Linked DNA regions of Homo sapiens: region 2 is linked to region 1. The links are contacts of gene promoters, found by promoter capture Hi-C in human tissues and cell types (Jung and others, 2019). All regions are on one chromosome and are shown on one strand. The core of a region is centred on a gene start or on the middle of the fragment in contact, and the rest is flanking DNA. Distances in the headings are between cores, read along the strand shown. Region 1 holds the start of COMTD1 (catechol-O-methyltransferase domain containing 1). Region 2 holds the start of LOC101929234 (a long non-coding RNA gene).

The links. Contacts are between HindIII fragments. The study calls those that stand out against the background at their distance.
Region 2: a fragment that was not itself captured here is called in contact with the fragment with the promoter of COMTD1 in region 1 in 1 of the 25 tissues and cell types used here (pancreas).

The regions. Positions count from the first base shown.
Region 1 is chr10:75,232,446-75,240,138 of GRCh38, reverse strand. It overlaps COMTD1 (catechol-O-methyltransferase domain containing 1), which reads left to right and starts at 4,182. Exons shown (of 7, transcript NM_144589.4): 1 at 4,182-4,304; 2 at 4,396-4,523; 3 at 4,767-4,872; 4 at 4,961-5,079; 5 at 5,147-5,201; 6 at 5,396-5,529; 7 at 5,914-6,498. The coding sequence starts at 4,211. The coding sequence ends at 6,066. RefSeq lists silencers at 3,934-4,228, 4,264-4,403, 4,564-4,643, 4,774-5,063, 5,224-5,453 and 1 more and an enhancer at 6,084-6,233. The HindIII fragment of the contact is 14,083 bases long and covers 1-7,693 here.
Region 2 is chr10:75,407,583-75,415,275 of GRCh38, reverse strand. LOC101929234 (a long non-coding RNA gene) reads right to left here and starts at 6,119. Exons shown (of 3, transcript NR_110304.1): 1 at 5,836-6,119; 2 at 5,092-5,146; 3 at 3,952-4,984. It overlaps ZNF503-AS2 (ZNF503 antisense RNA 2), which reads right to left. Exons shown (of 2, transcript NR_024421.1): 2 at 6,294-7,693. RefSeq lists an enhancer at 7,586-7,693. The HindIII fragment of the contact is 4,292 bases long and covers 1,208-5,499 here.

The sequences.
Region 1 (7,693 bases), core at 2,933-5,432:
CTGGGCCCATCTTCCCACTTGGCATCCAAGGCTAAAGCCAAGTGGCCACCATGTCCCCTGGTGGAGGGTGAGCTCTGGAGTGCTCCAGTACCCACCACCCCCTATCACCTTGCCCTGCTTACTTCACCTGCCTGGCCCCAAAAAACATCTGAACTCCAATCCCTTAGGATTGATTCTACGACCTTACCTTCTGCCTCCTGCCCTGCTCAGTCCCGGGGGATCTCGGGCGACAGCGCCCAGCCTGTGTGATGCTAGCAGGGCTATGAGAAATAGGAGTGGGACCAGTAGGATGGAAACTCAGGGGTCTGTTCCAGACCTGTTTGTGTGGAGAGCTGTTCCCAGTGACCCAGTTCAGCTAAGACTGTCAGGCTATCTGCGTCTGTCTGTATCAGTCTACTCAGCCTGCCCCCTCTCTGCCTGGTGGGGGCCTAAGTGCAGGTGCTGATGCCCATTTTCTCTGCCCTGATGAGGCTTCAGGTTCCTTGGTGCTTAATGGGGCAATGGCATTTGGCCAAAACGCACCTGAGACAGGTGGAAATGACCTCCCCTGCCCATTCCCTCCCCTGGGGGCTGCTGCCCACATCCACAAGGCCCTTTGGGGAGGCTCAGCTCCCCCCACCCTCTACCAGGCCCACTGCCTGGAGAAGAATCAAAACCCACTCTGTCTTCAGCCCCCAGGCTTCTAGGAAAAAGCCCTAGAACAGATTCGGAGGCGACACTTTGCTCCCTTCCTGGTGAGCTGAGATACTGGTGCCGCCATGCAAGAGACAAGAAATGAGTAGCAAAAAGGGGAGGGGGTGGAAAAATTAAATTCTGCGTCATCAGCAAGGTTTCAAACAATCGCTCGCCAACTGAAGTGGGTGCCACGTCTATAAGTCATTCTGTTTTATAGACCATTAGGATCTCCAGAGAGAACCTGCATGGAGACCACTGCTTTTTGTTGAAATTAAAATGTCAGAGAAAAAGAAATAGAACAAAACAGGGAATCTGCAATTAATTACCAGGCCATAAAAATTCAATAATCAGGAAGCAGAGCGGCCGCCGGCCCAGAGGTATCAGAGCCAGCGTAACAAGAATGGAATACATTAATCTTTTCAAATTAGTTTTTTAATCTGACGGGGATAGATGGTGACATGCCTCCCCTCCCCACCCGCTCCCCCTCAACCTCCACCGCTCCGGCCTAAAGCCAGGCTGTAGGAGGGAGTTTCAGTGTGAGCTGGGGGCCTGCTGCAACCTGGACCCCCGGGCTGAAGGGAGAGAGCGGTCAGCGGCACCACCTGAGCGCAGGGCCCTCAGGCCAGCTCGAGCTGGGCCCTCGTCCCAGCAGAGGAGCCAAGAAGGCCTGTTCCCTCTGGGTCCCAGGGTTCAAGGGAGAGGTACGCGCGTTTCCTCTGTTGGCTGCAGGGTCTGGGCGGTGGTCTCTGAGCTTTCCTGCTCTGGAAAATGGGAACAAGATCACAGCCGCCCCCGGATCCTGGATGCATTGTGCCTGGTGCCCGGCAGGTCCTCAATAAAGGGGCCCTGCTGTTACTATTTTTACTCCTGGCAGCAAGGAGCGCCAGGCAGCGCCAGAACTCTAGTCAAGAGCATTTATTTAGCGCCTGCTGTATGCTCAGGCCTGGGAAGGAGAGACCAGCAGCCTCAGTCCTTACCCGCAGAATGAGATTCACGGTCAAGTTAGAGGCCAAGCGGGACGTAGAGGGTCAAAGAGTAAAGGGCAAGGAGCTTGTCCTCGAGCAGTGCTGCTAGCCCGGAGGCAAGTCCCAGGAGGGCCGAAAGGGCACGCATGCACGGAGACAGCAGGTTCTGCCCCCACACAGCCATGTGCTTCGGGGGCTGCCGGCTGGTTGGTCAAAGAACCAGCCCCACCCTGTCTCTGATTAGAGGCCGGCCCGTAGCCTCACCCCAGAGCTCCGCCTCCTCCTTCCTCGCTTCCGCTAGGCCCAAGGTTCCTGCAGCTCAGATCAAGAAACTGCAAGTTTCTGGCCTTCATCCTCAGCCAAGCCACTCTCTCATTAACTACTCAACAAGCTGGCCTCTGGGCCTCGCTCAGGTTGAGCCCCCGCCTGGGAAGCCCCCCAGTGGAGCTCAATGCCTAGTCAGCGTTGTTAAAATGGATTCTTGGCCGGGTGCGGTGGCTCACGCCTGTAATCCCAGCACTTTGGGAGGCCGAGGCGGGCGGATCACATGGTCAGGAGTTCGAGAACAGCCTGGCCAATATGGTGAAACCCCGTCTCTACTAAAAGTACAAAAATTAGCCAGGCATGGTGGCTGGCGCTTGTAGTCCCAGCTACTCAGGAGGCTGAGGCAGGAGAATCGCTTGAACCTGGGAGGCGGAGGTTGCAGTGAGCTGAGATCGCGCCACTGGGCTCCAGCCTGGACGACAGAGCAAGACTCCATCTCAAAAAAAAAAAAAAAAAAAAAAAAAGGCTCTTACAGCCTCCACCCCAGGGGACATCTGCAGTGCAGCAGGAAGATAACCGGCTGCCCTTCGGACTTTGACTCCTTTTAAAGGTAACATGACAGCTCACTAAGTGCCAGGATTTTCTCATTTGGTCCCCTGTGTAAGTCCTCAGCCTGGATTTTCTCATTTGGTCCCCTAGGAGGTTGGGACTATTCATAACGCCATTTCACAGAGGCAGAAGTCGTGAAGCTTAGGCCACCCGCCAGCTGTGTGTGACCTGCATCTCTGAAACCAGCTTCACTAAGAATACCAACCAGAGGCCAGGCACGGGGGCTCACACCTGTAATCCCAGCACTTTGGGAGGCTGAGGCAGGAGGATCACTTAAAGCCAGGAGTTCGAGACCAGCCTGGACAACATAGTAAGACCCCTTCTCTTTAAAAAAAAAATTTTTTTTTTTAAATTAGCTGGGCACAGTGGTGACCGCCTGTGGTCCCAGCTACTTGGGAGGCTGAGGCAAGAGGATTGCTGAGCCTGGGAGCTCGATGCTGCAATAAGCAGTAATCTTGCCACTGCACTTCAGCCTTGCCAGAGACCTTGCCAAAAAAAAAAAAAAGAACACCAACGCCAGGCACAATGGCTCAGGCCTGTAATCCCAGCACTTTGGAAGGACGAGGCAAACAGATCACTTGAGGCCAGGAGTCTGACACCAGCCTGGCCAAAATAGCAAAACCCGTCTCTACAAAAAATACAAAAATTAGTTGGGTGTAGGGGTGCGTGCCTGTAGTCCCAGCTACTCCAGAGTCTGAGGCAGGAGAATCGCTTGAATCAGGAGGTGGAGGTTGCAGTGAGACCAGATTGTGCCACTGCACTCCAGCCTGGGTGACAGAGCGAGACTCAGTCTCAAAAAAAAAAAAAAAAAGGACAGCGTCAGCGTCTTTCACCTCCTCCGGAGTTTGGCGCATGGTAGGGGTTCAATCAGTGTTCTCTGGACAGTGTTTCAACAGAACAACCTTGCAAGGGAGCTTCACCGGCTTTCTCCCCAAGATGTCTTCATTCCAACCTACCAACATAACAGCAGCTGCCACTTATGTATTGTGCTACTGTGTGCGAAGCTGTGGGATCTGGTGCCTTTTATGGTAAGATTGTAGGCCTCATTTTACAGGAAGGAAACTGAGGCTCAGAGAGACTGGCAGGACCAAGATTAGACACTCGTATCCATCTGGCCCCCAAAAGCAGGATTTTAACAGCTAAGAATATGGTCTCAGTTCCACAGGCCCACCCCAGGGCTCCTGAACCCCAATTCGAGGCTGCATGCCCTCAAACCAGTTCCCTCACTCCTTCAGCCTGATGCTTTGGGGCATCTTGTCCAGGAGGCCTTCCCCCTTTAATCTCTATCTCTTGTACTTGTGACTATCTTGTAACTTACACTGGCGCCCTCCATACACAATTCACATATGCCCCCAAGGGGCCTCAGAATAAATGGTGGCGAGGAGAAAAAAGCATTGGCAGGAGGGGAATGGAGGCAGGCACCTGGACTGCGGGCACAGGCGGGAAAATTCAGATCTAGGCGCTTGGCCTGCTCCCCGCAGGGGCGCAGTTCCCGGCGCGGCCACCAGATCGCGCCCGGCTCTCTCGGGCGGGGCTTGCAGTAAGGCTGTGTGGCCGCCAGATGATGCCCGAGACCGCGGCTCCGCGGGTAGTGCCCCGACAAGGTGGAGCCCGGCGGGCCCGCGAGTCCGAGACCTGTCCCAGGAGCTCCAGCTCACGTGACCTGTCACTGCCTCCCGCCGCCTCCTGCCCGCGCCATGACCCAGCCGGTGCCCCGGCTCTCCGTGCCCGCCGCGCTGGCCCTGGGCTCAGCCGCACTGGGCGCCGCCTTCGCCACTGGCCTCTTCCTGGGTGAGCAGGACCTGGTCCCGGCGGGCGGGTGGGCGGGCGCAGAGTAGGGCGCGGCGTGGCTCAGGTTAATCCAACACCCTCTCCCCGTCAGGGAGGCGGTGCCCCCCATGGCGAGGCCGGCGAGAGCAGTGCCTGCTTCCCCCCGAGGACAGCCGCCTGTGGCAGTATCTTCTGAGCCGCTCCATGCGGGAGCACCCGGCGCTGCGAAGCCTGAGGCTGGTCAGCAGGGCGCGGGACGGAAACGGGCGTCCCTCTCGACCCCTGCGGGTCCCACGTGGCTGTGTGACCTTGGGCTGGGCCCTGGCCCTCCCTGGGCTTCCGGCTTCCCTGGGCCGGGTGCGGTGGGCGTTCCGAAGGGCCAGTCCCCCAGGCCACGCCCAGAACCGCGCCCCTGGGGCTTGGGACCCCCAGGGCGAAGGTGGGTGACCTGCATGGCTGGTGCCACCCTCTCCTTTCACGCAGCTGACCCTGGAGCAGCCGCAGGGGGATTCTATGATGACCTGCGAGCAGGCCCAGCTCTTGGCCAACCTGGCGCGGCTCATCCAGGCCAAGAAGGCGCTGGACCTGGGTAGGGGCACGCGGCCGGGATCCCGGAGGGCCGAGGTTTCCGGGCCGACCCCCACTCTGGGCTGAGCCCGTCTGTGTCCTGGTCCCAGGCACCTTCACGGGCTACTCCGCCCTGGCCCTGGCCCTGGCGCTGCCCGCGGACGGGCGCGTGGTGACCTGCGAGGTGGACGCGCAGCCCCCGGAGCTGGGACGGCCCCTGTGGAGGCAGGTGAGCGCCCGCGCCTAGCTCTGCAGCCCCAGGCGGGGGCGCAACGGCTGACCCGCTCCCTCCGCAGGCCGAGGCGGAGCACAAGATCGACCTCCGGCTGAAGCCCGCCTTGGAGACCCTGGGTGAGCACCGAAGCGGGAAGGGCTTTGAAGCCATTCATTGCAAACGAGGCTGCTGTGTGGCCGAGCTGTGACTGGGCCTGCCGGGCAGGTTAAGGGCAGGGCCGGTTGTCACAGAGCCCGGGCCGGCCTGGGAGGGGCCTCAGGGCCGCCGGGGCCGCGGACTCAGCCGCACCTGCCCTCCCTCCCCCCGCAAGACGAGCTGCTGGCGGCGGGCGAGGCCGGCACCTTCGACGTGGCCGTGGTGGATGCGGACAAGGAGAACTGCTCCGCCTACTACGAGCGCTGCCTGCAGCTGCTGCGACCCGGAGGCATCCTCGCCGTCCTCAGAGTAAGGGATCCACTGCGGGGGAGGAGAAAGCACCCTGTCGGGCCGGGTCCCCATCTTTTCCCTTGACTCCTCTTATACCCCAAAGCCCCACCCAGTCCAGTCACGTAGGCTACACCCCCTCCGGGGCTCCGGCCCCGGTACCCAGGCTTTCCTCCGCTTTGGTTCTGTCTCCAGCTCTGGTCACCTCCTGCCCGGGCACCTCCCTCCGAGGCCCCGCCTCCCGCCCAGACACCTCCCTCCGAGACCCCGCCTTCCGTCTGGGCACCTCCCTCCAAGACCCCGCCTCCCGCCCGGGCACCTCCCTCCCAGTCCCCCGCCTTCCGCCCGAGCACCTCCCTCCGAAGCCCCGCCTCCCACGGCCCGGTTGGCCCCGCCCTCCCGCAGGTCCTGTGGCGCGGGAAGGTGCTGCAACCTCCGAAAGGGGACGTGGCGGCCGAGTGTGTGCGAAACCTAAACGAACGCATCCGGCGGGACGTCAGGGTCTACATCAGCCTCCTGCCCCTGGGCGATGGACTCACCTTGGCCTTCAAGATCTAGGGCTGGCCCCTAGTGAGTGGGCTCGAGGGAGGGTTGCCTGGGAACCCCAGGAATTGACCCTGAGTTTTAAATTCGAAAATAAAGTGGGGCTGGGACACACGACCTCCTGAGCCTCCGTGTGTGGCGCTGGATGGGGAAGGGAGGGAAGGCCCAGCACAGACAGCTCCTGCCTTCAGTGAAAGGGGCCTTGAGATTCGTCCCCTCCCTGGCGCCAGGTCTGTGGCCCAACTGCAGGAACCTCCAGCTGGCAGGAGGCAGGTTATAAAGTTTTAACTGGCCTGGCCACGTGTAATGGCCAGAGACCCCAGCACCTCGGGCTTGTCTGCCTCCTACATCTCTCCCTCAGGGCAGGCGAAGCTCTGGTTCTGAGCAGCTGGGACTGGTAGAGAGCCACGTCTGGTGTCTGACAACATGAAAGAGGATTGCAGGGGACCACGGGTGTCACTTGTGTGCTTTTGTAGGTGATGCCAGTTCTGCTGGCGGCTTGCTCATGTCTTCACAGCACAGTCAGCTCCCCAGCCTCACCTCTCCAGTGGAGGCCCTGGTGGGGGAACATCACCTCTAAGAGCCAGGCCAGTTGGCCTGGACCTGAGGACCTCGGGGTTGACTTGAGTATCCTGCCGTGGGGTTGACTTGAGTATCCTGCCGTCTCCTTGAAATTCTTAAGTGAGGGGGATCACTGGCCAGGGAGGCGTGAAGCAGACAAGCCTATAGGTACAGCAGTTGTTACTACACTCCCTAGAGGATGAAGAGAACTTCAGGCTTTCCTGAACCATCTGCCTATGAGGGGAGGTGGAGAAGGAACCAGGCCTCATGGAGCACCTTCGACCCAGGTGCTCTGCTTATTTAAATCTCCCCAACCTCACAGATCTTATCTCCACTGGCAGATGGTCAAATTCTTTCCACTGACACTGCCTCAGGCATAAGTGGCATTAGCCTGGAATTCAAGCAGCTTTTGCCACTACCTGGTAAGCCTCGGTGGTGGGAAGTGTCCCTGGAGACTGATGGAAGCAGAGCTAAAAGAGCCACATGAGGCTGGGCACAGTGGCTCACGCCTGTAATCCCAGCACTTTGGGAGGCTGAGGCAGGTGGATCATTTGAGGTCAGGAGTTCGAGACCAGCCTGGTCAACATGGTGAAATCCGGTCGCTACTAAAAATACAGAAATTAGACAGGTGTGGTGATACACGCTTGTAATCCCAGCTACTCGGGAGGCTGAGGCAGAATTGCTTGAACCCGGGAGACGGAGGTTGCAGTGAGCCGAGACCGCACCACTGCACTCCAGCCTGAGCAACGAAGTGAGACTCCGTCTCAAAAAAAAAAAAAAAAAAAAGCCACACGAGCTCACAGCTCCTGGGACAAACTTTGCATTTTGGACACTACGCAAGACCACGGCTGGAAACCTACCCTTTTCTAACTCATAAAAGCATATTAGGATGCATGTGGGTGAATAGGTTCAATTTACTCTAAGGAAATCCTTGACAAAACAGTTAACTCACTCGTGCCACACCTCAGTCCAAATTACTGTAGCCACTGCCCAATAAAGGGCCACCCATTAGCTAAGGGGCAGCAGTCCCCATGACTAGGGTTTTTCTCTTTGAAGGACCACCAGCAGTGGTTAGTTGCCT
Region 2 (7,693 bases), core at 2,104-4,603, 180 kb before region 1:
TTCTTCTGAAGCAGCAGGGCAGGGAGACTGAGAACATGATAAAGCCTTTGGCTGTTCAAGTAAAACGTTGTGAATATGAGAATGTGGTCAAAGAGCTGGTAGGAGTCACTGCGGGGCAGCATGTTCAGTTACAAAGGTGGGGACTAAGAAAGTCAAATCTTTAAAAATCTATTTATATAACCTATATATTAATTTTTTTTGAGACAGGGTCTTGCTCTCCCAGGCTGGAGTACAGTGGTGCTGTCACAGGTCACTGCAGCCTCCATCTCCTGGGCTCAAGCTGTCCTCCCACCTCAGCCTCCTGAGTAGCTGGGACTACAGGTGTGCATCACCGCTCCCAGCTAATTTTTTTCATTTTTTGTAGAGATAGGGTCGCACTATGTTGCTCAAGCTGGTCTCAAACTCCTGACCTCAAGCAATTCTCCCACCTCAGCCTCCCAAAGTGCTGAGATAACAGCTATGAGCCACCACACCTGGCCTAACCTATATTTACTGAATGTAGTTGATGCATATGGTAGACTATGTAGGCAATAAAAGTAAGATGACATCATTTGTGTCCTTATTAATGCCTTGATTAACAGAAAAGGTGAGGGGAAATGAAGGGAAAAAGTAGGGATAGAGACAGAAAAAGAAGAGAAAAGAAGAATAAACACTAAGCCCAGAGACATGAAGCATATTGGCCAAGGTCAAGGTTTGGGAAAGTGCAGTGCAGTGAGTAGGGAAAACCTACCTCTTCCCTGGTACTCCCCCAATACTCACACAAGACCTCAAATGCTTCAGGCCATGACTTTCCCAAGGAAATGTCCCCTGGAGATGTTTCTGTGCCATTGATTGCATTCCACAAACATTTTTGAGCACCCCAAGGTACCAGTTTCTTAAGCTCTTAAGCTCTGCTAAGAAGAAGCAGAGTTGATTGTTTCCTAAGGCGGTCGATCTTGACAGTGTCCTTTGATGCCTTAGACACCTTCATCAGACATATTGGGTGTCATCCAGGCTTGTGGGAGGGAAGGGCTAGAAGGGAAAAAATTCTGTACATTCTCAAACCAGATGGAGATAAAAATCATTTTCTCACCGGGCTTTGGTAAGAGGTAAGATAATGTTGTAAGCTACCTAGAATTGTGTCCAGGACACAGTAGGCACTCAGTAAAACCAAGTGTGATTCTCTCACTCAATGCTGACCTGACTGCTTCTCTTTACTGCATTGATCAGTTTTTCAGCTGAAGTCGTTACCTGGCTAGGTTGGTATTCAGCCAGGCTGTTTGGTGCTGGAGTCCCACACAAGTACCCATCATAGGAACCCACAGACACAACTAAGAAGTAATCACCATTGGACCTGTTTAGAAGCCACCTGAACAGCCAGGCTATGGCAAATCAGTTGACGTTGTTGGTTGTGAGTGACCAGAACTAGCTTTGATTAACTTAAGCAGAAAAGGAATGTATCAGAAGGATATCAGGAAGTTCACAGAATCAGTGGGAAGACTGGAGACCTAGACTTGGGAAATGGACAGGAACTGTCAGCAGCTGGGAAATGGAAATGCGGCTGGCCATGCTACCATACCAGCCGAGTTAGGCCACTGCCTGAGTGGCTGCCATGATCACAGTGCACATGGCAGTGACTGTCCTCTCTGCCCTTCCTAGTCAATGCTATTGCACTGGGCTCACTGCTGCTACTGAGAAGAGTTTCCAAACTACCACAATCCTCTGCTCACCCCTTGAGTCTGAGACCCAGGTAGGGAGCATCCATTGGTTAGAGGGCAGAGAGAGGGAGGATGTGGCCTCTCCCACTTCAGTAATCAGACGCAGGCCCTGCTTTCCAACAAGGAAGAGGATTCAGATGTTAGGCAACCAAATGAGTAGGAAGAAATTAAATGTCCACCATGCAATACTTTACTTGTAGCACTGAAGGTTAAAGGTATTACCACACTTGCCTCCAGGTGTCTTTTGGCCATTCTAAAATACCAAAGCCATGCCATAAAAATGTTTGCCTGCTTCTGAGGCTATTTCAAAAACTATACTTGAAGGCAAGTCTCTAATATAAGTTTCTAAAAACTGTTTTGGACCACTGTGATGGCATTTCGTTTTTTTGTTGTTGTTGTTGTTGTTTTTGTTTTTTGAGACGGAGGGTGGTATTTCTTGTTAAAGAAGGTGAAGAATATGTCTGTCTGTAATTATAAAAATCCCCAATTTCACTGGCTTAAACGAATAGGGATTTTTCTAACAAAATAAAAGTTTTGGAGAAGGAGGATTGTTGGTGATGGCTCAGTGTCCCAATGACATCAGGATTAAGTTTCTTTCTTCTGTTTTCTAGGACTTTCCCTCATAGTCACAAGATGGCTACTACAGCTGTAGATATTATGTCCAAGCTCATGCAAGGAAGGAGGGGAAAGGGAAGGGTCTAACCATAGGCATCATCCCCTTTGATCATGAAAATAGAGTGCTTCTCAACACTCGCTTACTGCTTTGCCACCCCTGTACTTCCACTTGTTCCTCATTTGCCAAAATAGGTTGCATGGCCACCCAGCTACAGGGATGCAAGGGAAAGATGAAAACAAGATTGTCATGATTGGCCTATGCCAATCGCAAACCACTGCCTGGGCCTGGTACACTACTACAGTTTTCAAATGAGGAAGGTGGAGGGAGGTGGATATCAGATAATATATCTAAATTCTGGTATCAGATTTGACCATTGCAGGATTGGAAGTTAGACACACAAGCGTGGAAGACAAGGGCTTTCCAAGGAGAGGAGACAGAAGGAAAACACAGGGCATGTGGGGAGAACAAAGAAATTCAATTTGGCTGACGTGTAAGTAGCTGCACTTTTGGTAAACTATCCTAGAGAAGTAAAATCACTAATTGCAAGGATATAGACATAAGAAATTTTATTAGCAAAAAAAACCTGGTAACAATCTATGTGCCCACTAATAGGGGAATGGTTGAATAGGTGCAGTATATACATCTTATGAAACATTATGTAGCTGGCCAGCATGGTGACCTGTAATCCCAACAGTTTGGGAGGCTAAGGCAGGTGGATCCCTTGAGCTCAGGAGTTCAAAACCAGCTGGGGCAACATGGAAAAACCCCATCTCTACGAAAAATACAAAAATTAGCCAGGCGTGGTGGTGTGTACCTGTAGTCCCATCTACTTGAGGGGCTGAGGCGGGAGGATCGCTTGAGTCTGGAAGGTCAAGGCTGCAGTGAGCCATGTTTGTGCCACTGCACTCCAGCCTGGGCAACAAAGTGAGACCCTGTCTAAAATACATACATATATACATACATTAAAAAAAAATAAAAATAAATTAAAATTACTATGTAGCTAAAAAATGAATATATTCATTCCATATCTATAGACCCATTTATTATTAAGAATGAATGAGCGAGTTGCAGAGACCCCTAATATAATCCTTTTTGTATAAATAGGCAATAACACAATAGCTCCACATATATGAATATAGTTTATTATGAGCATGGAGCATGGTGAAAGAGGTAGAAGTTATACCCCAGGTCCTTAACAATGGATGTCTTGGGAGACTGGGTGGGAAATGCAGAGGAGGTGAGGAAGATCACTGATGTTTTTCTTTGTATATCTTTGAGTGTTTTCCTGGTTGAGGTGAACATGTGTTTCTTTCATAATTTTGGAATGCATCTTAAAGCTTTACAAAAGTAGTTTGGAAGTGGGCTATGAAGAGTCAAGTGTTACACTGTATCATAGGGAGCCACTGAAGAGTTTTGAGTAAGGGAATGATGTGGTCAGGAAAATTAACCCAGCAGGAGTATGTATGATGGATTAGAGGCAGGAGAGGTGGAGGATGGGCAGAACAATTAGAAGGTTCTTGTAGCAGCAGTTAAGTCAGAAACTAGTAAGAACTGAACTGTGATAGCAATAATATGTGAAGAAAGGAAGAGGAAAGGGGGTGCAGGCTAGAGCCTTGAGACATACATGCCCAACACTGGGAGATGGTCGTGGGTGGCATGGTTTTCCATTAAATTGTGTCAACCAACACATCTTGCATCTTGAAACCCTGAATAAATGGCTGTAATCCATGCATATTCCTCTTCTCCAACCTCCTCCAGCATCCCCTTATTTGACATTTACAATAAAGGCATTCAAAATAACATATGTTTTCATGAGATTTGTATCATCGCCCTCATTAAGTTGAGAACATCTTGGAATGTGAGACCATGGAGAATACTTACTGGTGGCCCCAAAAAGGGCAGTTTCATTCGTTCATCATAGTTGGTGGTTTATACAAATGTTCCTTCTTCATTTGTTCCTTGAAGGAACGGCCCTAGTCCCTACCCCCTGGGAGTTTACCATCCAGTGAAGCGGACAGACTCTCAACAGGAAATTCTATTATAAGTGAGGGTAATGGGAGGCGGGAGGATGCAGGAAAGTGATGTGTGAGCTGAGACCTGAAGGAAGAGTATGCGCAAGCCAGGTGAAGAGAAGGACAGGTCATTCCAGAGAGACAGAGAAAAGCAGGAGCAAAGCCCTTGAGGTGGGGAGTAGCATGGCACATTTGAGGAACTAAAAGGAAGCCTTGGGTAGCAGGAGTTCCAGGTGAGGGGGTGTGGAGGCAGACAAAGGCAGAAAGGCAAGCTGGGGCAGAGCCAGTGTAGACCCGCCAGCCAGGGGAGGCAAGCTCAACTTGTTCTCAAGAACAATGGGAACCCGGATGCCTTTAAGCAGAAGAGAAACATGGTTGGATTTGCTTTTTAAAAAAAGAGCATGCTGGCTTGGGCTGGGACTACAGGGAAACAGCAAGGAATGCTCAATGGTCCGGTTTTCCCATTAGGCTGGGAGCTGGCCAGGGGCTGAGATGACCCCATGCCATTTATACTGTTCTCCTCTGTGCAGATCTCCCTCCTGCTCTGCACTGGCTTCAGCTGCAAATGGTTGTGGTTAACAGGCTGGTACTCCCCCATCAGAAAAGTAGAATTCTCCCTCCAATACTCCCCCAGAGTAAGGAGTTGGCATGCCCCAGATCTGAAGGAAAGAAGGGATGAGGATGGGATGCGGGTGAGGCAAGGCAGATTTCTTCTCTCTGTGCCTCAATTTCTTTATCTATGAAATGGGGCATTCATGGTACCTACCTCAGAGAGTCGCTGTGGGCGAGGACATAATTCATACAAAATTTTTAAATGGCACCTGGCACAAAATGAACAATCAAAAAGTGTTAGTTTTTGCTTTTGTTCTTCCTGAAAGATAGGTGGGACCCTATGAGCACGGACTATATTCCCCACTGTCCAAGAGGACGGCTGATCACATCCGCAGAGAGAGCGTGAGGACCCCTGGGCCAGGCAGGTGTCAGGAGTACCAAATGACCTAAGTTTCAACAAATCTCACGTGCAAGTTTGGGCCTGGGATCCTAGTCTGCAGATGCTTCTGTTCCTATGACTTAAAAAGAGAGTACCCCCAGGTGAGGAAAAGGGAGCCGCCCTGTGCCCTCCTGCGAAACCCGGTTCAGCCCGAGGCCTCCGGGGTTGGGGGCGCGACTGGGGGGGCGCCGTGGCCTGAGATCCAGCTCCGAGTCGGTGGGGGCGGAGCCTGGCCTGGAGCGGGCGGGCCCGCGCGGCGGAGGGGCGGGACCGGCGCGGCAGCCCGCAGCCCCACCCCCAACGGAAGTGCCGCCGGGCCCGCCCCTCCCTCCTGAGGCCCGTTCCCCTCGCCCCTCCCTCGGCCCACTCTTCATGGCTCAATTTCGGCTCCCGGAGCTGGTTCTACCAGGGCCCCAGCACCGGTCCAGAGAGGAGGCCCCGGGTCCGCGCGTCTGGTTGTGTCGGGCGGTGCTCTCTGTCCTTCTCACTCCCCAGCCCTCCCTTCCATTTCTCGGTTACCTGCGCGGCTGCAGGCGCCGCCGGGGACTGCACAGGTAAAAGTCTCGGCAAGTGAGGGCGCAGGTGTGGGCGCCTCCTGGGCCAGGCGGGCAGGGGAGAGGCCGACGGCACGTGCCTGGCTCTAAAAAGATTTTTTTTTTTTAACAGGGATTGTATTGACAGTGGGGGCTTGGGGAGGGCAGACACGGACCCTGGGAGCGCTGCAGGGCACTGGGGGGAGAGAGGGGCGGGACTGAAGCCCCGGAGATTGGGGGCCGGTTCCTTTACGGCCCCGCAGCTTGCGCAGGCTCCGTGGTGCCTGGGAGGTGGTGCGCCGGTTGGGTGGGGGCGGGTCCAGGCCGCGGCGTCGGAGAATTGTCCCCCATCCAGTCCCCGCGATGACTGGGTTTTGACAGCCTCCCCTCCCGAGCGCGCACATTCCCAGGTTTGCAGAATGAAAATCAATAAAATCGATGCAGTGGCAAAGAACGCGAAACATGTTGGGTTATTATTATTATTTGTGTTTGTTAAATTTTTTTTCTTTAAACTTTTTTCTTATAAAAGGTGGTTTCAGCTTGGATAATGGCCTCAGAGAGGGACGAAAAACGCCCCCTGGTTTCCCAGCAGGGTCCGGGGACCCGTCTTAGGTCCCAAGCCTCGAAAAACGTCCCAGGGCGGCTGTGCGGGGTCTGGCGGCGGGAAAGAAGCCCGGGGCACGCTCGGTTTCCGGATACGGCTATTCACCGCACCTCACCCTCTGCCCTTTAGGGAGATGGCCCCCCTCCACCGATATTTCCCCGGTTCACCACCCCCACGCCCCGGGAACCGCGCCTCCTCCCCTCCCCCGCGCTCTCCCCGGCGCTTTAAGTAATGATATTTGCATGCAGGGAGCGATTCATAAATATGTCAGGGCTGGTGAAATATAGGCAACATTTCAAACTTTCTATTTAAAAAACATGAATTATGGCCGCGGAAAATGTGTTCCCATTTAAAGGCGATACGAAGTATTTGGTGTCTCGTCCCCGGGCCCATCCATCACGCAGACAATAAAGAGAGTTTTTCGCCCTGACACCCGCGATTTATGGGCGCCCTTCTCTGCCCTCATCACTCACGCGCCGCGGCCGGCCTGGCGACAGGCCCCGCGGAGAGACGCGCGGCCGCCCCCGCGCGGGCCAGCGCGCGCACTTTGCGCCCTCGCTGGCCCCGCAAGATCTCGGCTCCCAGAGGGAAGCACCCGCTCCCAGGAGTTGGGGGATCGGTCTTGAGGGTCTGGGCAGCCGAGTGGGAGCAGAAACCACACTGGTCCTCCCACCCGCGCAGCCTCTCAGGGCCGGGGCCGAGCGCGCCGCGGCGGGGTTTTGCTAGCCTTTGCTGTGTCCTGGCCTCAACGGCGCCGCGCCGGGAAGTTTGCAGGGCAGGCGGCGGGAAGTTATTTAAGCACTGGCTCGAAGTGAGGACAGAGAACTGGGCAGGGGGTTACCCAGGCCAATTCTTGGGCCATTCCGCCCCAAGGAACATGGAGCTGTCCCCAAGCTTTCTTGAGCCCCGCCGGGCGGACGCTTCTCGGCTAATCTTTCTGCAACTTTTACAAAGCTGCCTCCTCCCCAGTTTGATCTCTGCAAACACATCCTGGGCGTCCGCGGCAGCTTGGAAACTATTTTTACCGTCTGGGGCCGAGGAGTTGCATTGAAATAAGGAAGGCGAGGCGCCTTCTCTAGCGTTTCACCCCGGACCAGGCTGGGTCACCCAGTGGCCTCTTTGCTCCCCCGCCCCACCCTTCGTGCGCCTTCCAGAGCCGCCATCGAATCTCTCTTGCTAACTTGCAGCGCTCTGGGGGTTCTCCAGACACAGGCGCAGGAGGGAGCCTTCGTCGAGGAAA